5 separate regions of the Homo sapiens genome follow, and regions 1, 2, 3 and 5 are each linked to region 4. Evidence: promoter capture Hi-C in 16 types of primary human blood cells and fetal thymus (Javierre and others, 2016). All regions are on one chromosome and are shown on one strand. The core of a region is centred on a gene start or on the middle of the fragment in contact, and the rest is flanking DNA. Distances in the headings are between cores, read along the strand shown.

Region 1 (4,286 bases), core at 781-3,280, 650 kb before region 4:
CAGGGTCAGTGATTCTGTTCTGGCTGGGGAGGGGGAGCTAAGGGGACCACCTCTCCCAGCCCCTCCTTTGGGGGCTCACAGAGACCTCAGATGGAAGCTGAAGTGGACTCTTGCTCTCCTGCCCTCAGCCGAGGGGCTGAGCCACTCCGGGAGGGTTTTTGGAGGCCTGCTCCGCCCCCAGCTGCTATTAGTGCTGCCACGGCCAGCCGCCTCCACCCCAGGAAAAAGAGGAAGTGGTCAGAAGCCAGCAAGAGAGAGCCTTAAAAGAGGACGTGTCCCAACCCTCACAGTCCCCTCCCTGTCAGGCAGAGTGGAGGAGCTGGCCGGGTACTTCTCAGAGCTGGCCGGGTGCTTCTTGGAACCTTCCACCTGGGGAAGCTGGAACCTGCTTTCACCCCACAATGATATTCTAAAAACACCCTAGAATTGTGAGGGCCTCCAGGCTTCCAGCATCAGGGAACTCTGAGACGCAGTGTTGGGGAACAGTGGGAGCTCCCAGCTCAGCACCCAGCACTCAGCAGGCTCATAGTTCATACGTGATAGACGGGGCCTACATCACAGTGAAGAGTTGCAGGTTCAAATCCTAGCTCTTTTATATATATTATATACATATATTATATTTTTTTTATATTTATTTTTTGAGATAGACTCTTGCTTTGTTGGCCAGGCTGGAGTGCAGTGGCACAATCTCGGCTCACTGCAACCTCCGCCTCCCAGGCTCAAGCAAATCTCCCACCTCAGCCTCCCGAGTAGCTAAGATTACAGACGCCTGCCACCATATCCACCTAATGTTTATATTTTTAGTAGAGACAAGATTTCACCATGGTGGCCAGGCTGCTCTTGAACTCCTGACCTCAGGTGATCCACCCACCGTGACTTCCCAAAGGGCTAGGATTACAGCTGTGAGCCACTGCACCCGGACTCTTTTACATATTTATAGGGTAAAAAGTGACATTATGATCTATGAATACAACGTGGAATAATTAAAGCTAGTTAACATATCCATCACCTCAAACACTTAACTTTTTTGTGATGAGACTGTTTGAATTTACTCTCTTAGCAATTTTGAAATGTACCATACTCTATTATTAATGACATTTACCACGCCATACAATAGGTCTCAAAAAAAACCCATATTCCTCCTATCTGAGATTTTGTATGCTTTGACCACCATCTCCCCATTTCCCGTCCTCGAGCCTCTGTAACCACCATTCTACTCTCTGCTTCTATGAGTTTGACTGTTTTAGATTCCACATATAAGTGAGAACATGTGACACTTGTCTTTCTGGGCCTGGCTTATTTCACTTAGCATAATGTTCTCCATCTTTATCCATGTTGTCGCAAATGACAGAATTTCCCTGGCCATCAATCTCTAGTTCCAGGCTGGAGGCAGTGGCTCATGCCTGTAATCCCAGCACTATGGGAGGCTGAGGCAGGTGGATCACCTGAGGTCAGGAGTTTGAGACCAGCCTGGCCAACATAGTGAAACCCCATCTCTACTAAACATACTAAAATTAGCTGGGCATGGTGGAATGCACCTGTAATACCAGCTACTGAGGAGGCTGAGGCAGGAGAATCACTTAAACCCTGGAGGTGGAGGTTGTAGTGAGCCAAGATTGCACTACCGTACTCCAGTCTGGACAACAAGAGTGAAACTCTGTTTGAAAAAAAAAAAAAAAAAAAAAAAAAAGCTGGGTGCGGTGGCTCACGCCTGTAATCCCAGCACTTTGGGAGGCTGAGGTGGGTGGATCTTGAGGTCAGGAGATCGAGACCAACCTGGCTAACATGTTGAAACCCCATCTCTACTAAAAATACAAAAAATTAGCCAGGTGCAGGTGTGGTGGCAGGCGCCTGTAGTCCCAAGTACTCGGGAGGCTGAGGCAGGAGAATGGCATGAACCCGGGAGGCGGAGCTTGCAGTGAGCCGAGATCGCGCCACTGCACTCCAGCCTGGGCAAAAGAGGGAGACTCTATCTCAAAAAAAAAAAAAAAAAAAAAATCTCCAGTCCCCATTCTGCTTTTTAAATGCTGAATAGTAGTCCATTGTAAATATGTGGCACGTTTTCTTTATGCATTAATCTGTTGATGGACATTTAGGTTGATTCCATAACTCAGCTATTATGAATGATGCTGCAATGAACCTGACAGTGCAGACATCTTTCAACAAACTGATTTCAAATCTTTTGGGTAAATATCCAGAAGTGGGATTGCTGTGCTGGATTTTTTTTTTTTTTTTTTTTGAGACAGAGTCTCACTCTATCACCACCCAGGCTGGAGTGCAGTGGTGAGATCTCAGCTCACTGCAATCTTCCCCTCCCAGGTTCAAGGGATTCTTCTGTCTCAACCTCCTGAGTAGCTAGGATTACGGATGCCCGCCACCATGTCCAGCTAATTTTTGTTGTTGTTGTTGTATTTTTAGCAGAGATGGAATTTCACCATGTTGGCCAAGCTGGTCTTGAACTCCTGGCCTGAGGTGATCTGTCCGCCTTGTTCTCCCAAAGTGCTGGGATTACAGGCATGAGCCACCACACCCAGCCAAATTGCTGGATCTTATACATTGTTTTCTATGTTTGCTAAAACATAGATACCTCTATGTGTTTTTAACTTTTTTTTTTTCACAATGGGATCATATTATTCTACTGTTGTTTTTACTTAACGGTATATTGCAGATCTCTTTCTAGGTCAGCAAATCCAGCCAGCTTTCTTTTTCTCAACCATGGTACCTTGCATTCCGCCGCGTAGATGGATTACACTTAAGTGAAGCAGCTGTCCATTGAGGGACATCTCAGCTCTTTCTAGGTTTGTGTCTTTGCTTCATAAGCAATGCATCTTTGGACATGTATCCTTGAACAGTGGGGTGAGTATATCCACAGGGAAAGATAAATCATTTGCTGTGTAAATGCTGGACACATACCAAAACAATTTTGACAGAAACACCAAATTGCCCTCCAAATACTTCATTGCTTGAATTGGTAACACTCATCTATTTCTTTAAATTTATTTAATGAAGGCCAGGCACAGTGGCTCACGCCTGTCATTCCAGCAGTTTGGGAGGCCAAGGCGGATGGATCACTTGAGGTCAGGAGTTTGAGACAAGCCTGGCCAACATGGTAAAACCTCGTCTCTACTAAAAATACACATAATTAGCTGGGCTTGGTGGCAGGCGCCTGTAATCCCAGCTACTCAGGAGGCTGAGGCAGGAGAATTGCTTGAACCCAGGAGGCAGAGGTTGCCAGGAGCCAAGATCACACCACTGCACTCCGGCCTGGATGACAGAGTGAATGAGACTCCATCGCAAAAAAATAAAAAATAAAATATAATTTATTTAATGAAAAAGTTTAGTTTGTTTAAGGCATATAATTTGACAAAAATCAATCAAGTGATTTTTTAAAATCTACATCTTCAGGGATTATAGAGATGTTAAAAAGCAACCCAGATGGGTTCAGAGAACAGGATCTTTGGCTGAGTTAGCTCCTACCTTCCCAAATAAACCACCCAACCAGTAGTGTGAGAACATGTAAATCAAACCCTGGTTTGGCTGCCCGGCATCCTAGACTGCTGTTTCCTGACTGAGGGGCCCCCTTGTGAAAGTCGCAGTGGAAAGGAGCTTTAGTGAGCACCACAGCCTGGAAGTAAACCTCACCCACATCTTCCACCCTGAGCTCTCTCCTGCCACCCCCCGCCACAGGCCTCAGTGCCTGGAGAGGTCCCCTGCAGGAGGGAAGGAGCCAGGTACAGTCATAGTCAAGACTGTTTCAATCCCAGCTCTGCCAGCATCTCACCGAGCCTCTCTGAGCCTCAATTTTCCTAATCTGTCAAATGTGCCCGATAAAACCTAACTGGTTCACAGGGTTGTAATGAGGATAAGATGTGGAAACAGATATGAAAGTCACTGGCTTTCCTTCCTTCTGTTTGGGTTTACCATCAAGTCTACAAATGGGGAATAGGAGATCCGAGTCTGGGGTTTTCTGACCACAAGTGCTTTCCCAGAAACAGTCTTCTTTGAAGTTATTTTTTTGCAATTTGAATAGTTTATACAGGCACATGGCATGCCATTCAAAAGGTCTCAAGGGGTAAGTGCAAGAAGTCCCCTGTTTACCCCTAATGTCCCCTCCCCCAAACCAGTTCTCCTCTCCGAGACATCCTTAGTCACCTCTTTCTTGTGTCTCCTTTCAGACTCAGTCTTTGAGCATTTCCACAAAAATGCAGCATTCTGCATACTCTGCTCTGCACCTTTCTTTTTTCATTTTTTTTTTTTTAATTTTTTAAGTTTGAGACAAAGTCTCA
Region 2 (4,055 bases), core at 12-2,511, 790 kb before region 4:
ACTTATTTTTGCTGCAACCCTAAAACTACTCTAAAATATAAACTCTATTTAAAAAAAAACAAATGAAGTAAAAGAAAAAAGTAAATGGAACTCCAATGATATAAACAAAAATTTGAGATTTATATGTGAAAAGACATGCATACATGTACACACACACACACACACAGATCCATACAATTGACTCTGATCCCCACAATTCTCAGAGGTAGATGCTCTCAATCCCACTTAAAGAGGGGGAAACTGGGGCACAAAAAGGGTAAACCACCTGTCGGTGGCTGTGCAGCTGGTAAGATGATTTCAAGTTGATCTCACTCTCACAGAGTTTCTTGTCCTCAGCACTGTAGGTACTTGGTGCTGAATACTTCTTTGACTTTTTTTTTTTTGGTGGGGTGGGGGTGTTTTTGTTTTTTGTTTTCTGAGACGGAGTCTTGCTCTGTTGCCCAGGCTGCAGTCCAGTGGCGCAATCTCGGCTCACTGCAACCTCTACCTCCCAGGTTCAAGCCATTCTCCTGCCTCAGCCTCCCAGGTAGCTGGGATTACAGGCACCCACCACAATGCCTGCCTAATTTTTGTATTTTTAGTAGAGATGGGGTTTCACCATGTTGGCCAGGTAGGTCTCGAACTCCTGGCTTCAAGTGATCCGCCCGCCTCGGCCTCCCAAAGTGCTGGGATTATAGGCGTGAGCCACCCTACCCGGCCCTGAATACTTCTTCGCTGGGGGGTAGGGGGGGCTGCCCTGTGCAATGTAGGATATTTAGGAACATCCCTGGTGTTGACCTGCTAGATGCCGGCAGCAGCCTCCCGCTGTGACACGCACCCATGTCGTCTCTGGACACTGCCCAGTGTCCTCTGGGGGCATCGTCACAGCAGTGGAAAACCAAGGCGCAACACAACCCCCCCTTGAGTCTATAGCTGGGCTCAGAGCCCACAGGCAAACCCTGTCCAGGGAGACTGTCCCAGGCATCACCTGTTTAAGGAAAGCTGTGCTAGTTTATCTCCCAGGGGACCTGGCAGGCTTGATGAATCTGATCCCATCCTCCCATCAGTCAAGGAAGGCTTCCCAGGCAGTGACACCTGAGATGATGGCCAGAAAAGGTGCACCCAGCCAGGTGAGGGCAGCCCCATCCTCAGGCCCTCACCCCTCCTGCCCTGCCATCTTCTCAGTCTTCTCATCCTCAATGTGTGCCTTCAAAAGAGGCCCGACATGAGGCTCTTCTCATCCAGAGTTTCAGTGGCATCAGACAGCAATCTGAAGTCTCTGGCATCTGGCAGACTGCAATCGTTCCATGAAGACAGGTGGCCAGGTGAGCACAGGTGGCCAGGTGAGCACAGGTGACCAGGTGAGCACAGGCGGCAGAAGGGTGAGACTAGTCCCCAGCAGCATCCCGCCAGCTCCCTCAGGCACCCACACACCTTGTGCTCTCACCTGCTGTTCATGTATGAGAAACCTCTGGAAGTCATGCAGGTAAACAGCAGAGGCATCCGGCCTGTCAGTGTTCCTATCCTCGGGGAAAGGGGGTGCAGTTAGAGACAGACACATTCAACAGAGGAGTCGAGAGGAGATGCCAGCCAATGGGGCAGCCTGCCACCCAGAACGCCCCACTTAGTCTGGCACTGTGTTAGGTACCAGGTTGGCCAACAGGAAGACACAGGTGAGTGACACAATGTCCCTCACCTACAAGGATTCAGAGGGACCCTGACATCGGAATCTCAAGGGGCAGGCCCTGGTGTCTACATTTAGCTGCTCCAAAATAGCTCTGGTGCACCCCAGAGTCTGAGGAGCCCCTCCAGGAGTGTGGCCATGGGGAAGACAGGTGAACCAGGCATATGGGATACAGTGTAGCAAGAGATGAGGGTGGGAAGGGAGGGGAAGAGTGGGAATGGCTGAGAAGGCCCCAAACCCAGACCTGGAGGACCAGAGGGGCTTTCCTGAGGAAAAGGCACCTACTTGAGCTCCAGAGAGTGAGGTGGGATGAGCCAGAACGAGGTGGGGTGAGCCAGAATGAGGTGGGGTGAGCAAGAATGAGGTGGGGTGAGCAAGAAGGAGGTGCAGAGAGTACCTGGCAAGGAAACCAGAGAAGCAGCGGCCTCGAGGAAAAAAGAGAAGGGAGGGGAGGAAAGAAAGAGGAGTAGGAGCGAGGGAACGCAGGCCAGAGGGAGGGATTGCAGAGCAAAAGGTGTGGGGAACACAGGGATGTGAGTGTGCCTATCCAATACCCAGACAGGGCTCGACACACCACCCGCCCGTAGAGGGAGAGCTGGTGTTGGAGAAAGGACAGGAGCCAGACCCAAGGGCCTCCTCAGAAGCCACGATCCAGAGTTCCCTGGGTCATTGAGTGCTCTGGAGTGGGAGCCACATGAGGCCCCACCAGACTCCAGGCCATCAGGGCAAAATTAACTGCAGTGTGAAAGACACTTCCCTGGACCAAGCAGAGGTTAGGTATCAGGTAGGGAACACTAGGGAACACTACACTCCGAATAAAGGCAGGACTCCCGCCTTGGCCAGCAGGCCACCAGAAAAACAGGGCCTCACTGGGCCAGCACGAGCCACCCCCGGGTTGGATGGGGAGTACATTCTGCTACACGGGGCTTCCCAGGGTAATGGGTATGTTTCCCTGAGCACTTGCAGGAGCCTGGGGAAAAGAGGTCTATTTCAAATAGTGTAAGAGATGAAACATGCCCTGAGCTTTCTCCCTTTACTAAACACTCAGGGTCCAGGAGTCTGTTGTCTTTGATTATGAGTACAATTCTAACCTTTCCCCACCAGCCTCACAGTCTAACACTAAGTTTTCATTAAAATACTACATAGAAATTATGGCTGGGCACAGTGGCACATGCCTGTAATCCCAGCACTTCGGGAGGCCAAGGCAGGTGGATCACCTGAGGTCATGAGTTCAACACCAGACTGGCCAACATGGTGAAACCCCATCTCTACCAAAAATACAAAAAAAAAAAAAACAATAGCTGGACATGATGGATGCCTGTAGTCCCAGCTATTCGGAGGATGAGGCAGGAGAATCGCTTGAACCTGGAAGGTGGAGGTTGCAGTGAGCCAAGATTGCGCCAGTGCACTCCAGCCTAGGCGACAAAGGGAGGCTCCGTCTCGAATATACATACTATATAAAAATTAGATTCATTTTATTTATACTTTGGAGTCTTGGAGTTTCTGATTTCAAAAGTGACAGAGGGAAAAGTTGCTCACCGATAAAGACTGGATCAACGTACCCCAGACCATTAACTCCAGGGCCAACATTTCTCCCAGTCAGATAGGCTGGGGAAACACATAACATCTCAGAAATTCCCCACTTGGGAAATCATGAGGCACAGTGAATGTCCTGATAAGTCCTGCAACTCTGACTTTTTAGTAATAATATTACTATCTATCAGCCCCTCATGGGTGCCAAGCATCATGTGAAGCAGTTTATACACCTGAACTCATTTTAATTCAGTTAAACCTGTTTAACAAGGAATTTTTCACTTATTTGATCATTAACATTAGTTTTTGTAATTAAAAAAAAAAACTATTAACCTGTCACATCTCATGAGGCACATTCGGGGAAAGGAGGCCCTGAGGCACACAGGCTTTTCTACAGAACTTTCTGGACCATCCTCCCAGTGCTCCACACCTTCCTGTTGCTACTGCTCATCTCTATCCACGCCACAGGCATGGGATGGCCAATTCCCCAGCAGGGGCCCCCTGCCCCTTTGGAGGTCAGCGCCTGCACACACAGGCATCCCCTCCTGGAGGCCGGCTGGGCACCAGGCACCGAGGTCCGGCACAGCCGCCCCGAACGACACACAAGAGCTGCCTCACCCCAGGATGAACACGGACGAATCCTTTTTGAATTCATCGAGAATCTGAAATGGAAAGCACACACAAAAAAAAGAACCTTAGACAAGTCACTTAATGCAAAAACGGAAAGATTTTTGTTGTTAAAAAAGCATCATTTTGTCAGATGCAACAAGATCATTAAAAATATCATTTTAGTTGATGTTAGTTGTAAATATTCAAATATAACAGAAACTTAAGAAGCAAAAGGTAGAAGCCCTCCTCA
Region 3 (4,243 bases), core at 363-2,862, 640 kb before region 4:
AAAGAGGTGGAAATTACTTCCTTTCCCCTTGAGTTTGGGTGGAACTTTGTGACTTGCTTCTAACAGGTAAAAAAAAAAAAAAGGAAAAACCAGAAGTAATGGTGTAAGACCCGGAGACAAGGTCATCAGAGGCACTTTGGCTTCCATCTTGGTCTTTCTCTTTCTCTCTAGAATCACTGACCTTGAATACAGCCAGCTGCCATCATGAGGGCACTCACATAGCCTACAGAGAGGCCAGTGTAATGAGAAACCAAGGCCTCCTGTTAATAGCTGTGCAAGGGATCCATCATTAAGTGGATCCTCCAGCCCCAGGCGAGCTGTCATATGAAACTGCAGACCAAGCCACCATCCTGCAGCAGCCGTGTGAGAGGCCCTGAGCCAGAACAACCCAGCTAGGCAATCCCAAATTCCTGAGCCAGAGACATAGTGAGATAATAAATATTTTCTGCTTTAAGCCACAAATTTTAAAATGATTTGTTAAATAGCAATAAACAACTAATATATATCCATCCATGAGTCACTCAACAATCCACACATCCATCTATACACCCACCCATTTATTCACCCATCCACTCACCCACCAATCTATTCATCCATCATCCATCTATCTATCCATTGATCCAGCTACCCATCCACCCAGTCATCCACTCATTCATTTACCCACCCATCCACCCACTCACTCATCATCTACTCAGTACAGAACCCAGGGCCTAGCACACAGTAGACGCATGTAAATATTTGTCAAATGAATAACCAAACATTTTGTAAATGTCTGCTCTCTATTTCTTGCCAAGACAGGCCAAGGGAGGCTCAAATGTGGCCCCTGGACCACTGTGAGATGGAGCCAGTGCCTGGTTCTGCCAGAGCAGCTCTGGCCTCTGGATGCTATTGGCCACCTCCTGGGCCCATTTGGCATCATCTCCTTCTGCTAAGAACCACCCACCCTTCTCTCACCCACCCACGCGCAAGCTGCATGGGCCTGCCTGGTAGGAAAAACCTGGCTCTGTCCCTCCCTCTCCCCCACCCCACCACACACACGCCCGCTGGGGCTGGTCATCCTGGAAGGCTGGGAACAGAGAAGCTTCTTGCCTCCCCAAGAGAGTTTGTGACAAGAAGATTTGGGTTCTTCTAGGTTCAAGAACCTGGGCCAACTGGGGCAGCCATAGGGAGGTTTTTGGCAAAGGCCTGGCTGCCTCTTCCCAGAGAATGTCATGTAGGCCTGGGCTCTGCCCGACCCACCCCAAATACCCACTTCCAGCCTATTCCCTTCTCATCCCTCATGGTTCACCTTACAGGCTCAGGCCTCAGTTTTCTCATCTATAAAATGAGAATGATGAGACTATTTTGGAGATGAGATGACACGTGCACAGGGGAACCCTCAGCAAGGGGCCCGGTGAGCAGCAAGTGCTGCAGTGCATGTGGAGCTACTGTGGACCGAGCGGATGGACAGTGAAACCAATGACACCCAGAGGCCCGCAAGCAGCCGCTGACCCGGCCCTCCCCTCTCCTCCCCTGTGCCCACTCTGCCCTGGCTGCATCCCCTCCTCCTGCTCCTCACACTCTGTGCCCACTCCCACCTCTGGGCTTCTGCACTGGCTGTTCCCTCTGCCTAGAATACTCTTTCCCCAAATACCCACTCAGCTCCCTTCTCCCTTCCCTCAGGTTTTTGCTCAAATGTCACCTTCTCAGTGAGCCCCACCTGGATACCCCTCCTCAACTCTCACCAGTCCCCTGTTTGGATTAATTTTTCTCTACCGTATTTATCCTTTTAAGGTACTACATCTTTTCCATCTCTCTCTTTTTTTTTTTTTTTGAGATGGAGTCTCGCTCTGTCACCCAGACTGGAGTGCAATGGCACCATCTCAGCTCCCTGCAAACTCTGCCTCCCGGGTTCAAGCGATTCTTGTGCCTCAGCCTCCCGAGTAGCTAGGTCCCACCAAACCTGGCTAATTTTTGTATTTTTAGTAGAGATGGGGTTTCACCATGTTGGCCAGGTAGGTCTCCAACTCCTGACCTCAAGTGATCTACCGCCTCAGCCTCCCAAAGTGCTGGGATTACAGGCACCAGCCACCACGCCTGGCCCACTATATCTTTTCATTGTTGATTTTGTTATTGCCTGACTCCTCCCAGAACATAAGCTTTATAAGCATGGGAATTTTGGTCTTGCTTGTTCATTGCTAGATCCTCAGCATCTACCAGAGTGACTGGCACATAGTAGGTGTACAGTCAACGTCGATGAATGGAGGGTGAATGGATGAATGGATGGATGGTGAATGTATGTATGGATAGATGAATGAATGAGTGAATGGATAGATGGATGGGTGGCTGGATAGATGAATAGATGGATAGGTGGGTGGATGGATAGATGGATGGGTGGGTGGATGATGGTGAATGGATGGATAGATGGATGGGTAGATAGATAAATGAATGGGTGGGTGGATGGACGGATGGATGGATGGATGGATGGATGGATGGGTGAGTGGGTGGATGGGTAGGTGGAAGGGTGGATGGAGAGAGGATGGACAGATGGATGAATAAGTAGATGGCTGGATGGATGGAGAATAGATGGATAGAGGGTGGGTGGATGGATCATTGGGTAGATGGATGGTCAAAATAAGAGGAGACTGAGTGAGCCTTCTCTAGCAGTCTAGAAATCACCATCTAGGCATGAGTTCCCCATGTTCTAAAGGTAGAAAACTAAAAGACGACTTCAGGGCTTATTAAAAAGTGGTGCAAAATGTTCCACTCTCTCCATATGTCATCCCACCTCCAACAGAAGACTTGAGGTCCATGAGCAGGGAGAGAAAAAGAGGGAAATCTCCTTCCCAGGTTCCGGGTTCACTCCTGTCCTCCAGCCACCCCCAGCCCAAGGCAGGTGATGCTTGATCTTCATGCTGCCTGCCTGGACTAGAGAAAGGCAGCTAGCAAGAGGTGCCTGGGTGGGGAGAGGTGACCACAGCAATGTCCTCCAGTCTACAGGTCAGGGCAGTGTGACTTTCTGGGAGTCAAGTGGACACCAGGAGGCAGTAAGCCTGAGATAGCTTCCTGTTATGCCACCCAGAAAGGAAGAAGAGACCCAGCAGGGGGCAGCGGGAGGTGGCCCACAGGGGGAAGGGGCTGGGGGGAATATGGCCTGGGGACCATCACCTCCACCCCTGCCTCATGGGGTCTCTCCCAAAGCTCACACCTGGACCACCATTTGAACATCCCTGTTGTCAGCCAGAGAAGCAGCAATGGCCTACGGAGGACAAGGGCAACCCCAGCAAAATGAGGCAGGTGCTCAGAAAAGGGAGGGGCTGAAGGAAACGTGAACTGAGTTTTGAGGCCAAAGTCTTAACTAGCTTAGACTGACTTTGTGCTACTAAAGGTATTTTAAGAAACTGGAAAAGCCCAGGCATGGCGGCTCACACCTGTAATCCCAGTGCTTTAAGAAGCCAAGGCAGGAGGATCACTGAAGGCCAGGAGTTTGAAACCAGCCTGGGCAACGTGGTGAGACCCCGTCTCTATAAAAAATTTAAAAATAGGCATGGTAGCACTGGCCTGTAGTCCCAGCTACTCAGGAGGCTGATGTGGGAGGATCACTTGAGCCCAGGAGGTGGAGGGTGCGGTGAGCTATGATGGTGCCAGTGCACCTCAGCCTGGGTGACAGAGTGAGACCCTGTCTCCAAAAACAAAAAATACATCTATTAAAAAAACAAACTGGAAAGATTTGACAGAGCAGTCCATAGCGCCAAGAAGAACACCATTTCACACATGTGCTCCAGGGAACACATGTGTGAACACATATGTGCTCAACAATAAATAAACCAGCGGCTTCCAAAATGTCCCTTGTAGGTCCTGGGGCCACAGGGAGGATTCCGTGACCTCATAAAGCATTCAGGACACTGCTTGGCACAAGGAGGGGCTCGGTCAATGTTCCTTAGTGAATAGGCATTGGAAACAGAACGGGGGGAGTGGAAGGAGGTCAGTAAGAGGCTTCTGGTTCCCTCTTCATGTGCTCCTGTGCAGGCCGGGTCTCACTAACGCAGGCTTCATCACAACGGCTTCGGCACTGACCGAGTAGTTCAGTGAAACATTAATAGCTGAGAGAGCCAGTGCCCTTCTACAAAGGCTGGAATGTCACAAAAGCCCACCAAGAGTTTTGCCTGGGCCTTTCCTGGGCCTTGAAGCATGACAGGATAACGAAGGAATTCTTAACAGGACCTGTTTAGGATTAAACAAGTTTTACTGGGGGTCTGAAATA
Region 4 (4,474 bases), core at 945-3,444:
GCATGACGGCCCTTGCAAGCCACTGCACAGATGTGGTGGCAACCCTAAGTTCATAGCAGGGCAGAAGCTCAGTGCAACAACGTATGGGCTCCCCAAACACACACACACTCCATGGTGTGCACCCTATGGTACTGTTTCCGGTGTTTGAACAAGAACAACTCCATTTTGAATATGGGCTGGGTAAAATGAGGCTGAGACTTGGTGGGCTGCATTCCCAGGAGGTTAGGCATTCTTTTTATTTGTATTTTTTTCTGAAGCAGAGTCTCGCTCTGTCACCCAGGCTGGAGTGCAGTGGCGTGATCTCGACTCACTGCAACCTCTGCCTCCCAGGCTCAAGTGATTCTCGTGCCTCAGCCTCCTGAGTAGCTGGGATTACAGGCACCTGCCACCATGCCTGGCTAAACTTTGGATTTGTAGTAGAGACGGGGGTTTCTCCATGTTGGCCAGGTTGGTCTCGAACTCCTGACCTCAAGTGATTCACCTGCCTCACTTAGTCACAGGATGAGCTAGGGTTGGCACAAGATACAGGTCACAAAGTCCCTGCTGATAAAATAGGATGCGGTAAAGGAGCTGGCCAAAACTCACCAAAACCAAGATGGCGACCTCTGGTAGGTCTCACTGCTCATTATACGCTAATTATAATGCATTAGCATGTTAAAAAAAAAACAACTCCCACCAGCGTCATGACAGTTCACAAATGCAATGGCAACGTCCAGAGAAGTTACCCTATAGTCCAAAAAGCGGAGGAACCGTTAGTTCTAGGAAATCCCTGCCCCTTTTCTGGAGAACTCTTGAATGATCCACCCCTTGTTTAGCATACAATCAAGAAATAACTATAAGTACACTTAGTCGAGAAGCCATACTGCTGCTCTGTCTACGAAGAAGCCATTCTTTTTTTTCTTTACTTCTCTATTAAACGTGCTTTCACTTTATAGACTCTCCCCAAATTCTTTCTTGCATGAGGTCCAAAAACCCTCTCTTGGGGTCTGGATTGGGAGCCCTTTCTGTAACAGTACTAAAGGTGTGTGTGTAGCTTAAGGTGTTTTTCAGAACAGTATTTCTTTGCTGACTCATGGCCACTCCATAAAATCTGTGTTAAAGGTGAGGTTTTTCCCAGAACCTAATTTTTTTCTGACTTCTTGGATTGGGATGATGACTTCGGCTTTTCTCGGAAGGCCTTGGTCACACCGCTGGCCGATGAAACAAGGAATTGTGCACACTGGGTCTCAGCTCTCTGCGTTTTGAATATTTCTGCATTAGTGACTGGCTTGGGTCCAGTCTCCACCAAGAAGCCACTTATGACCCTTGGACAAGTCTTTATTCCTTTTTAAGTAAGCTTCTGGATTCTGCCGGTCCTGTTTGGGGTCCCTGGGGCTCTTTGAGACAGGAACGTTACAGAGCAGTTGAAGGAGAATAGAAACTTCCAGGCTGCAGTTCTGTCTAACAAAAGGAAACTGTTGAAATAGCTGCACAAGCTATGGGCTAAGACCCTGAAAAACCAGGGTGTGGGTCAACCTGGCTAAAACCAACTGGACCCAACGTGGTGTGGCTTTGACCTAGGCTTCACCTAGGACTCATTAACATACTAAGTCACACACCCACCGGCACCACAACAATTCCGGGAACACCCATATTTGGTGTAAAAATGGGTGGCACCACAGTTCTGACAAGTCTCCACCTTATTCCAGAAACCTTTGTGTATATTCCATTTCTCAAAGAAACCCATAAAGATGGAAACCCCAAGCCCCATTGTGTGGCCCTCTTTTGAGTCCGCCCTTTCTTCAGTGTGTACTTTGCAGTAAACCTCTGTACTTTCACGACTTTCCGACTTGTTCTTGAATTCCTTCGTGAGGTGGTGAAACCACCTTTGAAAACTTATGACAGAGGCAGTAAAAGAGATACACATGTGGAAAGGAACCCAGTCTGGGGCTAGGCCCCGCCCCCCTCCTGCGGGCAGCCCAATCATACCCAGGCCCGCCGCGCTAGTCTCCGCCTCTCGGTGCTGCCTCTTCCGGGCCTCAGGTTCTTCCCCATGCCCACGCCCCTCTTTCGCGTCGCCGTATCCGAGGTCGCGCCAGGCCCTGGAGTCCCCAGTCTCCGCGTGCTGGCCAATCAGACCCTGCCTCGCCCCCTCGCCTGGGAGTCTCCGCCCTCCACGCTCTGCCCAGTCAGGCTCTGTCCCGCCCCCGCGGCACCGCCTCCGCGCCTCCATCCAGCCGGCTCCCTCCGGCCGCGAACTGCCCCTCCCCGCCCCGCCTCCCGGCGCGGGTGGCCGAGGCGTAGCGCTGCGACCCCCGCACCCCTGCGAACATGGCGCTGCGAGTGGTGCGGAGCGTGCGGGCCCTGCTCTGCACCCTGCGCGCGGTCCCGTCACCCGCCGCGCCCTGCCCGCCGAGGCCCTGGCAGCTGGGGGTGGGCGCCGTCCGTACGCTGCGCACTGGACCCGCTCTGCTCTCGGGTAAGCGCGGCGGGCACGTGGGCGGCTGCTCCCTCCCCGCCTGGGCTGCTTGTCCCGGGCCCAGCGGGACACGGAGGACGCCGGGGCACCGCTCCTGAGCCACCGGGGCGGAGCGAGCGCGGACCCTGCCCCCTTCTTATTTCTGTTGGGATCCCTGGCTCTGCGGCCGCTTCTCCCCCTTAAGTAGCGGGAGGACCCGCGAGTAGCCTTTGCCCTAGGGATTGCATGCAGCCGGGAGGGGAGGCCTGCGGGACACCGAGGCGGGGGTGGCCCGGCGGGTCCGGCGGGCAGGTCGGCCGCTTGCTGCAGAAGCCAGGCACGTGTCGCTTAAGCGTCTCGGTGGCCTTAAGTTTATCTCCCATCTGCGTGCATCGTTGAGACCCCAAATGGGGAGGCCTTTAGTTTACTAAATGGACCGTTACTGAGAACTCCGAAGTAAAATTAAAACAGAAGCGCTTATTAAAATTAAAGCACCAGGCAGGGCGCGTTGGCTCATGCCGGAGGGCGGATCACGAGGTCAGGAGATCGAGACTATCCTGGCTAACACGGTGAAATCCCATCTCTACTAAAAGTACAAAAAATTAGCCAGGCGTGGCGGCATGCGCATGTAATCCCAGCTACTCGGGAGGCTGAGGCAGGAGAATCGCTTGAACCTGGGAGGCAGAGGTTGCAGTGAGCCGAGATCGCGCCACTGCACTCCAGCCTGGGCGACAGAGCAAAACTCCACCTCAAAAAAAAAAAAAAAAAAAAAAATTAAAGCGCCAGATCTAGATTTTTTTACTAGATAAAACAATCATAACTTTGAAGATTCAGCTATTTCCCCAAAACAAGTAAGATAAAGTCTTCTGGACTCAACAGAAGTTCTGCTAAAGTTTGTATTGGATCATTCATGTGTGTGCTTGCTGAAATGAGCCCTAACTCAAACGGACTTGAAATAACTGGGAAACCTGCCCATGAATGTTTCGGCCATTTGTGCTACTTCAGCACAATTATTGCAGGGGAAAAACAATTTTCTTTTTTTTTTTTTTTCTTTTTATTGAGACGGAGCCTCGCTCTGTCGCCCAGGCTGGAGTGCAGCGGCGTGATCTCGGCTCACTGCAAGCGCCACCTCCCAGATTCAAGCGATTCTCTTGCCTCAGCCTCCCGAGTAGCTGGGTTCACTGGCGCCCGTCACCACCTCCAGCTGAGTTTTGTATTTTTAGTAGAGACAGGGTTTCGCCACGTTAGGCTGGTCTCAAACTCCTGACCTCAAGTGATCCACCCGCCTCAGCCTCCCAAAGTGCTGAGATTACAGTCGTGCGTCACCGCGCCAGGCCAACAATTTTCTTTACGCCCAAATGTTTGATACACTGACTGCTCCTCTGCTTCGATTGCGTAGATCAGTGATGGCTCTTGTCTCATTAGCTCATTGTTTTAGAAACCTGTTTGGAGCTGGAATGGTTGATAAATTTATTCCAAAATTTGTAGCATAAAGATTTACTTATGCTGTCTTGCTAATAGTCTGTCCGCTCTGTTTCTGATAGGGATCCCTACATCACTAATTTGAATACAAAGGTAAAGCATTTCTCAGATAAGAATTTAGTTTCAAGTCTGTGGTTTTCGTTCCTTTTTTTTTTCTTCTTTTTTGAGATGGAGTCTCGCTCTGTCGCCCAGGCTGGCATCCAGTGGCAGGATCTTGGCTCACTGCAACCTTCGCTTCCCGGGTTCAAACACTTCTCCTGCCTCAGCCTGTGGAGTAGCTGGACGACAAGAGCACACCTCCATCTCAAAAAAAAAAGAGAAGAAAAATTGACTAATACTAATATAAAATATTTTATCTGACTAGTGACATTGAAAAAGGAAAATGCAAAATTTTCATAAATTGCTCACAACTCCTAATTTTCCGAGGCCAAAAACCACCTTTTTCAAGGCCCAGTTAGAAAGTAATTATTGTCCAGGCACGGTGGCTCATGCCTTTAATCCCAGCACTTTGGGAGGCTGAGGCGGGCGGATCACCTGAGGTCAGGAGTTCAAGAC
Region 5 (4,171 bases), core at 585-3,084, 690 kb before region 4:
GCATCTCACCCTTTCACCGGCTCCTCCTAGGATCTCATACTTGAACTATTCTAATCCTGCTCTCCCCACTTCTTCCCTGACCTGCTAGGGTCAATTCTCAGATGCAGAGCCAGAAGGATCCTTTTAGAACATGAATCAAATCATGTCACTCCTCTGCTCAAAATCCCTTAGTCCCTCCCTGAGCCCTCACTCTGTACCATTCCCTCATTCTGCCTCCCAAATCCCCAGAAACACATTGCCTGCCCCCAAAATAGGACTTAGAGTGAAGGCGCTCCCCAGGCCCTGGAGCTGAACCACCAGGGACCCCCTTGCCAGCTAGGCTGCAAGAAGTCACTTAGATCCTCTGGGCTCATTTCCAGTCCCATAAAAGAAGGTAACAGTATCCACCATCTAAATGTTTTTGTAAGGCTTAAACAAGATAATGTATCTCAGGCCCTTAAAACAATGATACAAAGTCAGCACTCCTTAGATTAAGCTATTGTTAAAATTACCATTATTTGTTCTGTTTCTTATCTCCTCCTTTCCCTCCAAGTCCCTGGAGGTGCCTGGAGTTGTTACTCTGTAGCTCTCAAGGTTACAGAGTAGCACTAGAGAGACCCTCCCAGGATCCAAAGAAGGAGGAGTGAGAGGCTGGTGTTCAGCCAGGGCTGTCTGTGCTTCCAGCCGGGCTCAGCCTTCTGCCAAGCTGCTCTAAATCTGTGGCTCGGTTCCCTCATCTGTAAAATGGAGGTTAAATGCCCACAAGGGGCAGCTGGGAAGACAAAAAGCTACAATGTATGCACAGCCTGCAGCATTTACCAGGGTCTCAGTTAGCATTAATCAGCCATTGGGGAAGGCATTAATCAAATGTCAACTCTATGCCAGGCACTGAGGTGGGGACTAGGATGCAAATGAGGGGAATGGGGAGGGGCCCAGGATTTGCCCTTTGCCCCCACCTCCCTCTACTGCACACCCATACCAAAGGGACCTCCTCGGTCAGCCATGCCAGCAGCAGGAGATAATTACACCTGCTCTCTGCCCATGGGGAAACAGACTAATCAACTGAGAATTCTAATGTAGTTACAAGTGCAGCAGCAGAAGCATGCACTGGGGGCACGGCGGGCAGAGAGCAGCAAGAAGGAATCCTAAATTTAATCTGGAGTGTGGCTAGGCACTTAAAGGGCTCAGAAAAAGCTTTCAGGGGAAAAAAGCAGGCATCTGAACTCAATCTTTCAAAAAAGATGAAGCAGGAGGAACTGGCTTTAAGTTTAAGCAAAGGCTAGGAGGCAGAACAGAGTATGCTAAAAAAAAACCCTGCTGAGAGTTAATGTGCATCTTACCTTATCAGGAGAAACCCAAAATGACCTCCTGATCATTAGCCAGGACAAAGGGATGAACAAGGTGCCCCCATGGTCCATTTCATCCTTGTTAAGCAGCCATTTATTGGGCCCTTCCCCAGGTGCCAAGCACCTGTTGTGTCTGGTTCGTCTCATTTATCTCAATGGGAAATACGGCAGCGGAAAACTGAAATCCCAAGAGGTCACATTACTTGATCAAAGTCATGTAGACCAGCAGCAGCACAAAGATCAAAACCCTCACCTGAGTCCCAAGCCCCTAGTCCAGAATCCTGTGGCAGCATCTGGCCAGATATTAACTGATTTGCCAGTACTTGCCACTCTCAAAAGAGGTTAAGGGACTTATCCGAGGTCACACAGATAGAAAGTAGCAAAACGAGTTAATGGGTGCAGCACACCAACATGGCACGTGTATATATATGTAACAAACCTGCACGTTGTGCACATGTACCCTAAAACTTAAAGCATAATAATAATATAATAATAAAATTTTAAAAAAGTAGCTGAAACTGGATTTGACCCAGCTGCCAACCACAGAGCTCTTCACTATGTTGACTGTTCCCAGCCATGCATCCTGGAGTTCCCCACTCCCAGGTCTCTAGGCCATAGTCCACTGGAACATAAGTAGGAAACACAAGCCCCATTATAACACCTTCAATTAGACAGAAACCAGGACAAGGGACCAGGCTCCTCAGTTCTTTCCAGCCCTCACTCTGGGAGGGCCTTGGACTTAACCTTCCCCAGGGTCCCAGTTACTTCCAGCTTCGAAGCCCAGTGGATCAACTCAGCCATAAACACCAGACTTCCATGCTGCGTCTCACCAATTGCTTTGTAATAGCTGCTCACAGGTTGCCCTAAAGGAGCAGGGGTGGAATTTACACTCTCACCTGCAGTGGCTGACACCGTTCCTTTGAAAACACTGTATCCCCTCTGATGCTGCAGGGTGGGTGTAAGGTGCAGCAGTAATGTCCATTCAACTGTTGGAGGGGCCCTTACCACTCAAGTATTTGCCTGTGCCCCATTTTAACAGAATCGTTTTGTGGGATTTTGGATGAAATCCTGTACTGGCTTAACATGCACAGAGCACTGAAGAGAAAAACTTCCTTGATTTCTGGTTTGGGGTTCTTGTATCTCACGAAATGCCCTTCTAAATAAGCTTGTGAGATACAAGAACATGAATGAGCTTATGAGATGCAATTGGAAACAGATCTTCACGGCCAAAAGATCCCTGGAGTCCACCATTCAAATCCTGCCAGCACCCAGCTCAGGTCTCCAGCGTTCCACGCTTTATCAACTATGGCAGGGAGGTCTCCAAGACCTTGAGCCCAGGAGAGAGCACCAGCCACCACAGCAACTTCCATTTTGCTTCTGCTTTTTTTGGTTTTTTCAAAAAAAGAAAAAAAAAAGCCTTGAAATCCCTTTTTTGTTCCTGTTTCCCATTCTTAATGGGTAATTCTATAAAATGACTTATTTTGTAAATACAAATATGGCTGAGTTTGAATAACTGATTTTTGCCATTTTTACATTTCATGTCCTTCTAAAGGTTTTTCTTGTATCTCATAAGCTCATTCATGTTCTTGTATCTCATAAGCTTATTTAGAAAGGCATAAAATGGGCCAGGCACGGTGGCTTATGACTGTAATTCCAGCACTTTGGGAGGCCGAGGTGGGCGGATCATGAGGTCAGGAGATCAAGACCATCCTGGCTAACACGATGAAACCCCGTCTCTACTAAAAAAAAATACAAAACAATTAGCCGGGTGTGGTGGCACATGCCTGTAATCCCAGCTACTCGTGAGGCTGAGGCAGGAGAAAGGCGTGAACCCGGGAGGCGGAGCTTGCAGTGAGCCGAGATCGCGCCACTGCACTCCAGCCTGGGCGACAGAGCAAGACTCCGTCTCGGGGGCGGGCGGGGGGGGGGGGGGAAAGGACATGAAATGAGATGCGAGGACCCAAAACCAGAAATCAAGGAAGTTTTTGTCTCTTCAGTGCTCTGTGCATGGTAAGCCAGTACAGGATTTCATCCAAAAATCCCACAAGACAATTGTGTTAAAATGGAGCACAGGCAAATACTTGAGTGGTAAGGGCCCCTCCAACAGTTCAAGGGACATTACTGCTGCACCTTACACCCACCCTGCAGCATTAGAGGGAATACACTATTTTCAAAGGAATGGTGTCAGCCACTGCAAGTGAGAGTGTAAATTCCACCCCTGCTCCTTTAGGGCAACCTGTGAGCAGCTACTAAAAAGCAAAACACGCATATGCTTCGATCCTGCAATTGTACATGTAAAGAAAGACATGCACAAAGATGCAATATGTACGACAGAAAATCACGGAAGCAATAGTTGCAATAGAAATACAAAAAAAGAAAAAAAAACAGAAAACAACTGCTCATCAATGTGGGGGGCCTCCTGGATAAATAATGGTGCACATGCACTGAAGAACGCTCAGTAGCCATCAGAAAGAATGAGGATGATAGATAAGCAATTTGATCTGGAAAGATTTGTGAGGTCAATAAAAAAATAGCTTCAGACAATAGTTGCAACTGTATGAGTATAATACAATTCCCTTTTTATAAAGGTGATCTTCTGGTAAATCCAGGAGAGTGGTTACTATTTATCGGAGGCTGGGAGAGGGTAGAGGATACAACTTGACTTTATTTATATTAACTGATGATGTAACGGGCAAATTTTTCTCTTTGTGTTCTTGCTGTTTTCTAAATTAAGAAGTGTTTGTGTGTGTTTGTTTGTTTGTTTGTTTGTCTTGAGATGGAGTCTCTCTTGTCACCCAGGCTGGAGTGCAGTGGCATGATCTGGGTTCACTGCAACCTCCACCTCC

Evidence for each region. Contacts are between HindIII fragments. The CHiCAGO score rates a contact against its expected background, and 5 or more counts as called.
Region 1: a contact is called between a fragment that was not itself captured here and the fragment with the promoter of GCSH in region 4, in 5 of 17 cell types (naive CD4 T cells, naive CD8 T cells, non-activated CD4 T cells and 2 more). The highest score is 13.6, in naive CD4 T cells.
Region 2: a contact is called between a fragment that was not itself captured here and the fragment with the promoter of GCSH in region 4, in 1 of 17 cell types (neutrophils). The highest score is 5.2, in neutrophils.
Region 3: a fragment that was not itself captured here is called in contact with the fragment with the promoter of GCSH in region 4 in 4 of 17 cell types (naive CD8 T cells, total CD4 T cells, non-activated CD4 T cells and 1 more); the score reaches 7.8 in naive CD8 T cells.
Region 5: a fragment that was not itself captured here is called in contact with the fragment with the promoter of GCSH in region 4 in 1 of 17 cell types (fetal thymus); the score reaches 8.4 in fetal thymus.

The regions. Positions count from the first base shown.
Region 1 is chr16:81,748,376-81,752,661 of GRCh38, reverse strand. All of the region lies in intron 2 of LOC105369213 (a long non-coding RNA gene), which reads right to left. It also overlaps a transcript of PLCG2 not described here. Among named protein-coding and RNA genes, the nearest start is that of PLCG2, 29 kb to the left of the region's middle. RefSeq lists enhancers at 1-596, 3,761-3,830. The HindIII fragment of the contact is 7,152 bases long and covers 1-4,286 here.
Region 2 is chr16:81,880,713-81,884,767 of GRCh38, reverse strand. PLCG2 (phospholipase C gamma 2) reads right to left here. Exons shown (of 33, transcript NM_002661.5): 8 at 3,815-3,858; 9 at 1,427-1,499. Among named protein-coding and RNA genes, the nearest start is that of PLCG2, 100 kb to the right of the region's middle. The HindIII fragment of the contact is 5,892 bases long and covers 1-4,055 here.
Region 3 is chr16:81,731,691-81,735,933 of GRCh38, reverse strand. No RefSeq gene overlaps it. Among named protein-coding and RNA genes, the nearest start is that of PLCG2, 45 kb to the left of the region's middle. The HindIII fragment of the contact is 1,057 bases long and covers 1,084-2,140 here.
Region 4 is chr16:81,094,115-81,098,588 of GRCh38, reverse strand. It overlaps GCSH (glycine cleavage system protein H), which reads left to right and starts at 2,194. Exons shown (of 5, transcript NM_004483.5): 1 at 2,194-2,458. The coding sequence starts at 2,311. RefSeq lists silencers at 1,858-1,957, 2,108-2,777. The HindIII fragment of the contact is 7,249 bases long and covers 1,339-4,474 here.
Region 5 is chr16:81,780,953-81,785,123 of GRCh38, reverse strand. All of the region lies in intron 1 of PLCG2 (phospholipase C gamma 2), which reads right to left. Among named protein-coding and RNA genes, the nearest start is that of PLCG2, 3.7 kb to the right of the region's middle. The HindIII fragment of the contact is 1,317 bases long and covers 1,176-2,492 here.